Regions from separate parts of the Homo sapiens genome. Here all the other regions are linked to region 2. Evidence: promoter capture Hi-C in human tissues and cell types (Jung and others, 2019). All regions are on one chromosome and are shown on one strand. Each heading gives the region's core, a stretch centred on a gene start or on the middle of the fragment in contact. The rest is flanking DNA. Distances are from core to core; before and after follow the strand shown.

Region 1 (3,642 bases), core at 34-2,533, 610 kb before region 2:
TCTTATATTTGACAGATCTTATTTGTAAGGCAGTGAACAGTATTTGGGGCTCATAATGACACGTGAGGCACCCAAGGCCACTCAATAAACAGTCTTCCTCATATGCCATGCAGTGGTTTAACTTCTGGTAGAAATCCAGGTTCAGCCTCTTATACAGACAAAGCAAACCACACATTACATTTTAGCGTGGCTGGTCGACTTTGTAAAATGCGCCAATTGGAGTATTAAAAATGAAAGCAATAAAGATTGGATTGACAGGCAAAGTTTACAGGAAATTCTATGGGGAAAACAGAGAACAGAAACATAAAGAAAGCAGCCAAGTAAACGGATACTAGCAAAAGGAACCCTTGGGGGAAAATTTAATGCATTTTTGTCCTATCTGCTCTAATCCTATCCATCAAACAAGAATTACATTTCATACTTCCCAGCAAATTCCAATACTGCCACTCAAGTCAGAGAGTCATTTAGAACTGAAAATGTTCTGGGAAGAACAGAATCGGCATACCGTCTTGATCTCCTAATTCTGGTATTCTGAAATAAGCTCTTCTCAAGTCCAAACATACACCAGATGAATTTACAGGAAACCCCTGCTTAAACCATGACAGGAGAGGCTACTGTTGCATCTGAGGCTTAGAGGTACCTATCTAAAGAAAATACACAAGGCCAGACTCCAAGGAGGGAACTGCAGAATGTGTTTCCAAATCTCTTAGCTTTTTTTCAGTCCCTGCCATGGTCAGGGTTTGAAAACATTTTCACACAGGCATCACATTAAAAATAAATAAATAAATAAATAAATACATACATACATACATACATACATACATACATACATACATACTTCAAGCAGAGATGTCATGCTACTGGGGAACTTTCTAGGCAGAATAACAAAATAAGGTAATTCTAAACATATGAATTTATGTTTTTTGTATTTGGTAATATATGCATTATGCATTATGCCTTGCAAATGTTGTTACAGAAAATGGGAATGAGTTGCTTAACAAGTTATTTTCCTGTTAAAAAAGTTTACTTCTTCACCAAGATTCACAGCATTATGTATATACCAAGTGCCTCTTTTACACTGAACCCAGTGGTTCTAAGCCACAGGTGATTTTGCTCTCCAGCAGACATTTGGCAATGTCTGGAGACATTTTTTGTTATCGCAACTGGAGGAGAGGGGGGAGCTACCGGCATCTAGTGGATAAAGGCCTGGGATGCTGCTAAACATGCTACAATGCATAGAACAGCTCCTATACAAACATTATCGAGTCCTGAACGGTAGTAGCATGAAGATTGAGACACCTTGCTGAAGCACATGAGCTAGTTACTTCTGGGGTTTCTTTCACATGAACAAAATATTAAATGCAAAGTGGCTAAGAGACGTTAACTAAGTGTGATCCACGGAAGTCTAAGCTAGCCTTTGAAACACTTAGTATTTTCAAGAAATGCAAAGAATCACTTGGTTCTTTGGCATTAAAGGCAACCGTCCTCCAGAAATCCAGAAAATGCAAATCTAGGTCACTAATAGGACATTATTTTGCCTGCAGAAAAGTCATCTTCAGGGGATTTGGCGGTCAGTAGTAATATGGTAAAATCTTATTTCACTGACAATAAAAATAACATTAATATATCAATAACCCCAGGGTTTAATTTTTTTTACTGTACAAAAAGCAAATCCTATTTACATATTGAAATAAACAGCACTGGCTTGTGTTTCATGTCCACAGGCAATATTGTTAGGGCTGGAACCATAAATACTATCCTCAGGGTAAAACAATAGTACAAGATTAATAAGGTATTGGTCATTTTTATTGTAATACCAACGTATCCTTCACATTAGATTCCTTTCCTAGTGTAATAAGATAAGGTTTCCATATTGCTTAATACCAAATGCCCACATAAAGCAGCCAGCAAACCAATGCTATAGAAAACATTCTTTTTCACGTCTCCCCCAAGAATATATTTTATTCAAATAAAAACAATCCAAGAGGCTTTTATACAGCAACTCCCAATGAAAAGGGCACAGGAAAGATGAGATTTTGAATATGGGAGGGAATATTTCCCACCTCCCCTGCTCATCTTTCAAAGGGATGGAATTTCATATTGGATTGCTAAAAGAGCAATAGGGCAATAGTAAAAACAAATTAGAGTTTTACCACATAGCTCTAAGAGAATGGACATTTTTATTCTTGTAAGTTAGCCTACAGTAAAAAGTACTACGATTTTTACTTTTCTGTTGTGACACAGATGCTTCTTCTCTCTACCCTTCAGAGTCCTAGAGAAAAGTGATATTGATCTAATTTTTAAGTGATAACTTGGATAGATTCAGGCAGATGACAGAACTGACATTTTCTACTGCCTAAATGCAAACAGCACAGATTCACCATGGTGTAGTTATGAACTGTTTGTTCTTCCTTAGCTAACAATCAAGCTAACTTCGGGGGCCTTTATTTCAGTGTCATGTTTCTGTATTAATGTGAAGGTTATGAGATACAGACCGTTTAACTCTTTACACAATTTAACCTACTAGCTACAACTCAGACACATACTTGCTTAAGATACTAAAAAAGCCCTATGGCTTAGTTTACTGTTACAGGATTCCATAGGATCACAAAATATGTCATTTAGCTAGGATGTGGCACCTCTCCAAGAGGAAAAGCTCATGTCACTGCACTAGCAAGAAGCCTTCCCAATTCCTCATCAGAACACAACTGCCTCTCCTCCACGGTCCTATGGAAATAATTTGCTTTATTTTTCTTTTTGAAAAAAAAATAAATAAAAACGTAAACGGTGAAAGATAAGTTTCCGTCTCACCCTATTTCCCACTACTGTGTTGGCCCTTCCCAGAGAATCACCATCATGCTTTCTTGTGTACTCCTTCAGAAACATTTTATACATATAAAAGTTAATATATACATATATCTTATAGTACTTTGTGGTTTAATCGCAATAGTTTTGTATTCTATCTCCTATTACAATTGTATATATGTCCATTGTTCCTAATATGACGTGAGCATTTTCTTTTTTCTAATTTTAGACTGTACTATAGATAGAAAGTTGAAAAAAATTGTTAAGCTTATTGACCTCAAGTGAATCAGCATTAAGCAACGTTGAACAATAATAACTGGATTGGAGTAAGCTGCAACTACATCTTTGGATACCCTGTGTTCTATGTAAAATGGGACCAGGCTCTTCTCTACAGTAATATTTATCTTTCTGTTAGGTTACTTATCTCTGAGTTATATTTGACGGCTAAATTGCATAGAGCAATGCGAATGAGGAATAATATACTTTATTATGGACACTTATGTTAGGCTCCTTGGTATGTTGAGTAAGTTGTTTAAATCAGCTTCCACACCTCTAAAAGGCATGTCCCAATGTTAACTCAAGAAACAGTATATATTTGTGTGACATCTCACATGCATAGAAATGGTTGTTCTACTGGTGTCCTACTACTGGGAATGTTACCATATAAAGGTAATGAAACCAAAGATAAGCAAAACAGTTTAAACATAATTTCTATAAAGAAGTATCAAATAAATAAGATCAATTAGCTATAATCCTCCTATTTCTTTAATTTCTGAATGTAAAATTTCTATCTCCTTGTTGCCAACAACACAATGCATAGTCCAAGCCTTCCAAAAT
Region 2 (3,728 bases), core at 778-3,277:
AGCATTCTCAACCTAACACCCCCAAAGAGTTAAAACTTAAGGCACCGAGCAGGAGGGCTAGTCTATTTAAGCATCAGCAGCACAAACTAAATGCTCACAAAGGCAAATAGCAGTGTGAGTCGACCTTGGAGGGGCAGGGTGGATTACAAAGCAATTGAAAAAGAAAAAAACAAAGCAATAATCTTTTGTATAATACTGAAAGTCTGCTTCCCAGTCTGGTTTACAAATAGGCGTTGCTGGACGAGACAAAATAAATGACAGATAACTACAGCATGAATTACCTAACCCTAATCACATCACCGAGTCCTGGTGACAGCATAGATCATTCAGGCACGCCTTGTTCACTCTCGGCATATTTATTTATTAAGGAGACGGTGGAGTCTGGCTAATGCTAATGCAATACAAAATAATATCACCCGTACACTCGAGGTGGTCACTCCGCTAACATGTTTTCCCCCTAATCAAGTCCAATTTAATTGACAAATCGGAGCAGTGATTTCACACCTGAGAGTCTTTCATGTCTTAACTGCAGGATAAAGTTCAGGGTAGGTACTGCCCACTGCTTACTTACGTGGGCTTGCCTCTGGGCCCCTAATGGTCATTTGACACACACACATAAAGCCTAAAGTATTTAACCAATTCAAGTCCAATTATGATCAGTTACATTTCATTCCTTTTCAAGACTCAGGCCTCCTCATGGCAGCTACACAGAAAAATAGATCTTCTAAAAGTAAAGAACATCTATTGTAAAGCAGTCTGTAGCATGCTGATCATCCTCAACATAAAATAAAATAGGCAAGGCAAATTAAAAATAAAAATAAACTCTCAGAGACTCTGGTAGGAGCCCTATACCTTCTCACACCCTTCTTTCATTCTATACCCTGCGATTAAAAGTTTGAGTTACCCCCACCGTTGCACGTCCTATCCAGTGGGAAAAACCCTTTTAGAGCCACAATCAAAGAACAGCTCACCAGAAAAGCCCCTGAAATTATATTCTTGTGCCTGGTAATCACTGTTGTGATCTGCTTTCTAAAAACCGTGCCCATCTGCAAAAGACGTTCCTGATATCAGGACCATTTATGCTGCCAAATAACAACAAAGAAACTGAACTCAAGTGAAACTATTATCTCTCCTTAAAGAGAAAGCTACAATTCCGGGTTTGCTGCTTTCTTCTTATGTCTTCCTCTGCCTCATTAACTCCATTGGTATGTCACTAATTTCAAAGAAGCAGGAAGAAGTGATGGGGGTGGGGGTTAACTAATAATTCACACGCCTGTCTGTTTCCCATCCCAAGTGCAGAACGATACCACGCTGATCGCCAGACCGTGGGTCAAGCCATACCTTGGTTTGGAGATAATGAGGATAGTAGTAAGTGTACTGGGGGTACATTTGTGGCTGATCCAGGCGTTTGCCCATGTAGCTGGAATCTTTATCTCCGAGGCAGGGAACTGGATGACAGGGTATAGTGCCCCAGGCCGAGCTTCCTCTTAAACCACTATTCCTGACAGTCCCGGTGACTGATGAGGCTTCAGAGACTCCACCACTCGCTAGTTCCAACACAGCAAGAATTTTTTTAAAAAACAAAACAAAACAAAAAACACACACCAAAGGAAAAAAAAAAAGGGCGAGGAGTGAGATCTGTAGAAAAAACACCCACACACAGCCTTCCCAGATCTTGCCTGGCTTCCCCCAGCTGCCGGGGTCCACTTGGGATGAGGCAGTTTGTTCTCTAACCAGGCTGTCTGTAGTGATGTCAATTGCCAGCGTTCGTAAAGGGGGAAAAAAATCAAAGTCCTTTTAGCACAACTCCGAATCCTTGCAGATCAGCTTCCTGTCTCTTGGTTGTCTCTTTCCCCACCTTAAAGAAAAAGAAAAAAGAGAGAGAGAAAGAGAAAGAAAGAAAGAAAAAGAAAGAAAGAAAGAAAAAGAAAGGGGAAAAAGAAAAAAAAAAAGAAAAAAAGGAAGAAAAAAAAAAAAAAAAAACCTTGTACAGCTTAGTTGCTGCTGTCTCCCTCCCAGAGTGACATGGTGTTCGGGGCTTGTCCTGTCCTTTCATTCACTTCCCCTCCTTCCAGCCGGTGGGTGGAACCGAGAGAGCCTCTCCAGGGAGCAGCGTACGCAGTCCAGAAGGCTGCAGTATTTCCTCCAAGAAAAAAAAAAAAAAAGGCTGCTTCAACCCCTGCTGCAAGCAAAGTTCCGATTCCCTCTGCTGGCTATCTCGAATAGCAAGCGATTTTTGCAGCAACGCTGCTGCCGCTGGAACTGAACCTGAAGAACTCAAATGCGGGCGGTGGATTATTTCTTATCCCTCCTCCATCTACCCCACACAAGAGCTGCTTTTTGTTCCTCTTTTTGCCAAGTTCCAAGGTAAGCCACACTGCTAAACAAAACACAGAAGAGAGGGAAGAGAGGACGAAAGAAGGAAGGAGGAGAAAGGAAAAGAAATAAAGGCAGGGGAACTAACCTTGCTGGTTAAAGGGGAAAAAAGTAAGTCCCGGATGCTTTCAAAATCTGTTAACACGCTAGAGCCAGACGCATCCAAGAGCTGATTGAGAAACTAACCTTTTACTACCTGGAAAACTTGGTGGATGTTAAGTATTGAAGAAATTTTAGGGTCTACTCCAGGACTACTATTAATGCCACATGTCATCAGATTGGACTGATCAACTGAACATATCAAAAATAATAACTTTTTTAAAATACATCCATTTTGTAAAAAAAAAAAAAAAAAAAATCAAAGGAAGTGACCCCTTAGGTTCGTCAGATATTTTACAGATAAAATCTGTTTCTCCCATTGTCTCTCTCTTTATGATTATTTTGTTGCATTGATGCTTTAATCACTTTACTGATATCATCTAAAAAAAAAAGAACAAAAATCATAATTGCTTGGCAGAGTTTTTTCCCACCAATGATAATATTCTGTCATGTCTATCAGCTGCTACATTATAATACAAATTGTTTCAGATAAAATATATTTCCTTAAAGGGTCCCTTTTCAAGGCGGGCGAGGCTAAAATTAGATGTGCCAGCTGTGTTTTGCTGCGAGTGCTCACGCATGCCCAAAGCGTGGGCAGACCAATACTGAGCTCTTTTCTACTTTGTCAAGTCGGCTCTGTTCTCCTGAGCCCAGAGTCTCCTATTTAGATAAAAGGTCCCTGGTACAAATCCAGCTTCCTAGTCAAGAAGAACAGAGAATTTGGGCTCAGTGCACACATGGTGTCCATCCACATACAAGCCGCACCACCCCTAAAGCAACTGGCTTCCACCGAGGGGAACTGGTTTCTGGAAGCTGTGTGAGTGCATACGTGTTCCTTGGATAAAAATAAGGATGGCAGGTAAATAGTTTTATGTTTTACTTTTGACAAGAATAACAATCAGAAGGAAGGAAGGATGGAGGGTGAGAGGGTAAGAGTTAGGAGGCCCTGACAACATGGTGATTGAGAATATTAAATCAACCCCACCTATCTCTTAAATGTATTATTTGGGGCCTCAGTTGTCCCATCTATAAAATAGAAATACTGCCAACTCTCCTGGCTGAAGGCAGTACACTGAATCAGACACTAAAAATGACACTGATTTAAAAATCCTCCAGTGGTGTCACGTTTCTCAAACAATAAAGTCCTGACTCTTTGGAATAGGTTTCAGGACACTTGACGAGCTGTCTGGCCCTGGCTTTCTACTCTAGTCTCGGACTTTCAACTCTGCCCCTCACATCCTATACCGGAGTCA
Region 3 (3,986 bases), core at 1,299-3,798, 530 kb after region 2:
AGCAGGAGTCAGAAATGCCAAGCAAAGTGGGGAAAAGCCCCTTATAAAACCATCAGATCTCAAGAGAACTCATTCATTAACAAGAGAACAGCAAGAGGGTAACTGCCCCCAAGATTAAATTACTTCCCACTGGGTCCTTCTCACAACACTTGGGGATTATGGGAACTACAATTCAAGATGAGATTTGTGTGGGGACACATCCAAACCATATTAGTATGATTTTACATATTAAAGAATAATTAACCCTGAGATGCATTCTCAGAGAGCTCATTCCTAGGCACATCTGCCAGGGCAGCTAAAAGTTACATAAAACACATAGACATTTCCATTAACAAAGATCGACACACAGGAGTCCTTGTAGGAGGCATTTGCTAAAGCCTAGGCTACAGGCCTTCTGTAGCAATATGTCAATAACTAACCAGTGTCAGATGAACAAGAGCCCTCTGCAGTGTTTCTGTCTTTGCCAGTCTTAACTTCCCATCTACCAGCTCCTTAGAGAAGATCTATACATACAATGCAATTCAAGAGAAGACTATATTACATCAGATCCACTTTAGAGGTACTACTAATCATCATGAGCCCCATGCCCACCATCCCAGTGCTGTCAGTCTTATCCTTTAAAAATACAGGAGACCTAGTATAAAACCTCCAGTGCTTGTTGGCAACTGCCCACCTCTTTGACCTAGGTGAGTTGAAGGAAGGACATGCTGACCCATTGCATCTCCAATAGCACCCAGCTCTCATTCTTCTGAAATGTTTCCTGTGATGTGTCAGGACTTCATGCCACAGATAAAGTAGATGCTTCATAATCCACAATGTGGCTAAACTACCCACTATTCCCAGTATGGTTTGCAGCTGAAACATGTCTAGTGGATCACAGGGAATCCTAACTTAGGGCAGCCATCACAATCTGAATCCTTGTACCCCAAGTTGCTCCTCGTTTTCTGTCTGGTTCAACTGGTCTCCCAGATCTTTTTCCCTATGCCACTTGAGGCATACTCCTTTGAGGAACTTGCATAAGGATGCTTTTTGTACTGGTTTGAATGTTATCTATCATTACTTTTGGGTCTTTATAGACACTGGCTTCCTAAATGTTCAAAATCCCTTTCTCCTTTCCAAACCATTTTTCTCACTAATATGTGTGAATGTAGCAGAGAATGTTGGTCCCTTACTGTATCCCTCAGGTCTTACAAAGACCAGCCTTGAAACTGCCATTAACTGCATCTCTTTGCATGAGGTTTGTTTTGTTTTGTTTCTCGAGAAACTATTCTGTCCAGGTATGGTGATCTATGAATATCTGGGTATTAACTCACCTTGAGAGGAGTCCTCAACCAGTTACTGATAGGAGTCCAGGGCAAATGTTCTAAATTATTTCCCAGAATTTTTTCATAGGCTTTAGCTCTAGCTGTGCACAGTCATAGCTGGCTCCATATCATACCCTTTGTTGTCTGCCTTACTTTTCCTGTCATTCTTTCCCTCTCTTCTTACTGGCATTTGCTATACCTCCCAAATAAACTACTTGCTCTCAAGTCCTTGTCTCAGGGTCACTTCTGGGGGACTAAAACTAAGCCAATAGAAAACTACCTTTTTCTAATTCTAGTCACTTCAGTCATTTCAGAAATGCCTTAACTTTATGTACATATAGATATATGTATACATAAATATGTATTTCCAGTCTATGTCAATTGAATTTATAAATAACTATATATATATATATATATATGCAGCTGACATTTAAGTTTTTATATATTTTGTTGTGTGCTGGTTTTGTCTTTCCTGTAAGTTGATAAGATGCTCAAAGGCCAGGAGTGCAGCACCTCCTTCTTCTATAATTTTACACGATGCCTGGTGTGATGCTCCACAGAGTGAATATTCATTTAACCAGGGCTGAGAGACAAGGGGCCATGGAGGTCAGGTCTGTTTGTCCTGCGGGCTTGTCAAGGGTGAGAAATCTCCTAAGATAAAAAAATTGTGATGCTGTTTCCAACCCTTTGAAGGATGAACCTGGAAGCCTAAAATGAGAGCTGGCCCTGAGACAGGGCACCAAGTCAGAACATCAGTCCTGTGGCACATGCTATGCCCTCCAGGCCACTGGGACATGAAATCCTGTGTAATCAGATACGTTCTCTTGACCTGTTTCTGAGTGACAGTCCAGTTTGGGGTGAACTGGGCTACATGAGCTAGACAGACCAATGTGAGGCCCATTTCTGGGAGAACTTTCCTAAAAACCCTGGGCCTTTGCTGCAAATCAATAGAATTATTAAATATCTCAAAGCATATTACAGAACAGGGTGCTAATAGGTGAGGGTCCAATATAGGTAAAGAAGAGGTCCTACTTTGACCCACCTTACACTCCAGAAGTGAAATATTTATGGGGTACTTAATAGCGGTGAGCGATGAGTAATACTAATGCCACTAACCGCAAATACCTTATTTTTGCTTAGGCCTCTCATCTCCCTCTTGGGCCAGGAGGACTTTATGGCATTTCCACTTGTCTATTTCCCTTCCTAACTAGAATAAAGGCTAATTTATCAAACATTCTAAACCTGGAATCTTTATTAACTAGCTCCCCCAGGACACAAAGATTCTAAAGGACCTTCTGAATCAAACAAAGGTGAAATGACACTCGGTGTTATTTCAGAGTTGAGTATTTTGTTGCATTATTTCTAAGCCTTTTACAACTGACAATCCAGATAAAGTATTGATTAAACAGATCACTCTGCATCCTCAACTTGGCTGCTAACAGAGTTCACTGTAATATAGTTTTGGCCCTTGTTGGTTGAGTCTAGTGCCTCAAGAGCAAATTACCACCGAAGACCTCACACACTCAGCACCTCACAGAAACCTTGCCGTGACTCCAGGTGCGTGGGGCAGGCCTGCCCACAGAATGCAGCCTCCCACAAGCTGTGAGATTCTAAAAGAACTTTTCTAAGGCTTTTTCTGAGGAAAGCACACCAACATATGGCTTTATATGAATCCTGCTGATTGAGGAAACTTTAGATTCTACAGAAGCTTTCTAAAAATAATTCCAATTTGAATAGAAAGTCGAGTCCTTTACAGAGCCCAGACTGTTTTGTTCTCCCATCACATGGGAACTTGAAGAGGCCACAACAATGACAAGCAGACAGAGCAATGTGTAATTCATCCAGAAATGAACTGCCAACAGAATTACAAACAGCTGTCACAATGGCTGGGATAAAAGCCAGAATTAAGAAGGGCATGGAAGGGAAGCACAATAATAACCAGAGACCTCTAAGCACCAAATGTGAAGGCACACAGAACATATTCTCGTGACCTTCCTCTAACTTCCACCTCCATCCACGCAGAATGCTTCATCTGACAGTCAGATAAATTCACTTAGAAAATAAATCATCATTTACATACAATGTATTGAAAATAGACACGAGCCAGAACAACCAAGTTTCAGAGTAAAGTACTAGAAGAGCTGATCAATTCAAAAGTGTTTTGCACATTCTTTAGAGAAGAAATTTGCCGCTAAATTTTCTCATATATGCATGAGAGATGCAATACCAAGGAATGTTTAATTATACTCACCTTCAAAGCTACATGTCTACTGAAAGAAAACTGTGGCAAAATAGAAAACAGGAAACACATTCCATAAGGCTGATTCACTCTCTGGGATTTTTACATGTAGGAGTGCCATTATCGCATAAAAATGGTATCTTGTGTTGCCAACAATATTACCCATACATACGGAAGACTTCAGCACTTTCTTAGGAATCGCATTAAAAACATACCATACTATCCCAAATTGTGCTCAAGTTTGCATAGAAGTTATCATTGGCTATTTAACCTGTAGTAAGTTATTAAACATTACCCCTTGGTAGTCTCATTAATGTCTAAAGTACTTGAATATTAAAGATTACCTTTTATAAAGTCACTTCTAAATCAGCCCGGTCTCTACTCCTAAGGCAGCTTAACATCTCTTCACCTTAGTTTTATATCATCCCTTTTCTTTCACCTCA

What was found. Contacts are between HindIII fragments. The study calls those that stand out against the background at their distance.
Region 1: a fragment that was not itself captured here is called in contact with the fragment with the promoter of RBMS3 in region 2 in 3 of the 25 tissues and cell types used here (H1 embryonic stem cells, dorsolateral prefrontal cortex and heart right ventricle).
Region 3: a fragment that was not itself captured here is called in contact with the fragment with the promoter of RBMS3 in region 2 in 1 of the 25 tissues and cell types used here (spleen).

The regions. Positions count from the first base shown.
Region 1 is chr3:29,889,999-29,893,640 of GRCh38, reverse strand. All of the region lies in intron 8 of RBMS3 (RNA binding motif single stranded interacting protein 3), which reads right to left. Among named protein-coding and RNA genes, the nearest start is that of RBMS3-AS1, 42 kb to the left of the region's middle. The HindIII fragment of the contact is 5,217 bases long and covers 1-3,642 here.
Region 2 is chr3:29,279,370-29,283,097 of GRCh38, reverse strand. It overlaps RBMS3 (RNA binding motif single stranded interacting protein 3), which reads right to left and starts at 2,027. Exons shown (of 15, transcript NM_001003793.3): 1 at 1,342-2,027. The coding sequence starts at 1,416. RBMS3-AS3 (RBMS3 antisense RNA 3) reads left to right here and starts at 2,159. Exons shown (of 3, transcript NR_109804.1): 1 at 2,159-2,367. RefSeq lists an enhancer at 3,123-3,172. The HindIII fragment of the contact is 9,133 bases long and covers 1-3,728 here.
Region 3 is chr3:28,745,280-28,749,265 of GRCh38, reverse strand. The region is part of intron 2 of LINC00693 (long intergenic non-protein coding RNA 693); the gene reads right to left. Among named protein-coding and RNA genes, the nearest start is that of LINC00693, 170 kb to the right of the region's middle. The HindIII fragment of the contact is 4,833 bases long and covers 132-3,986 here.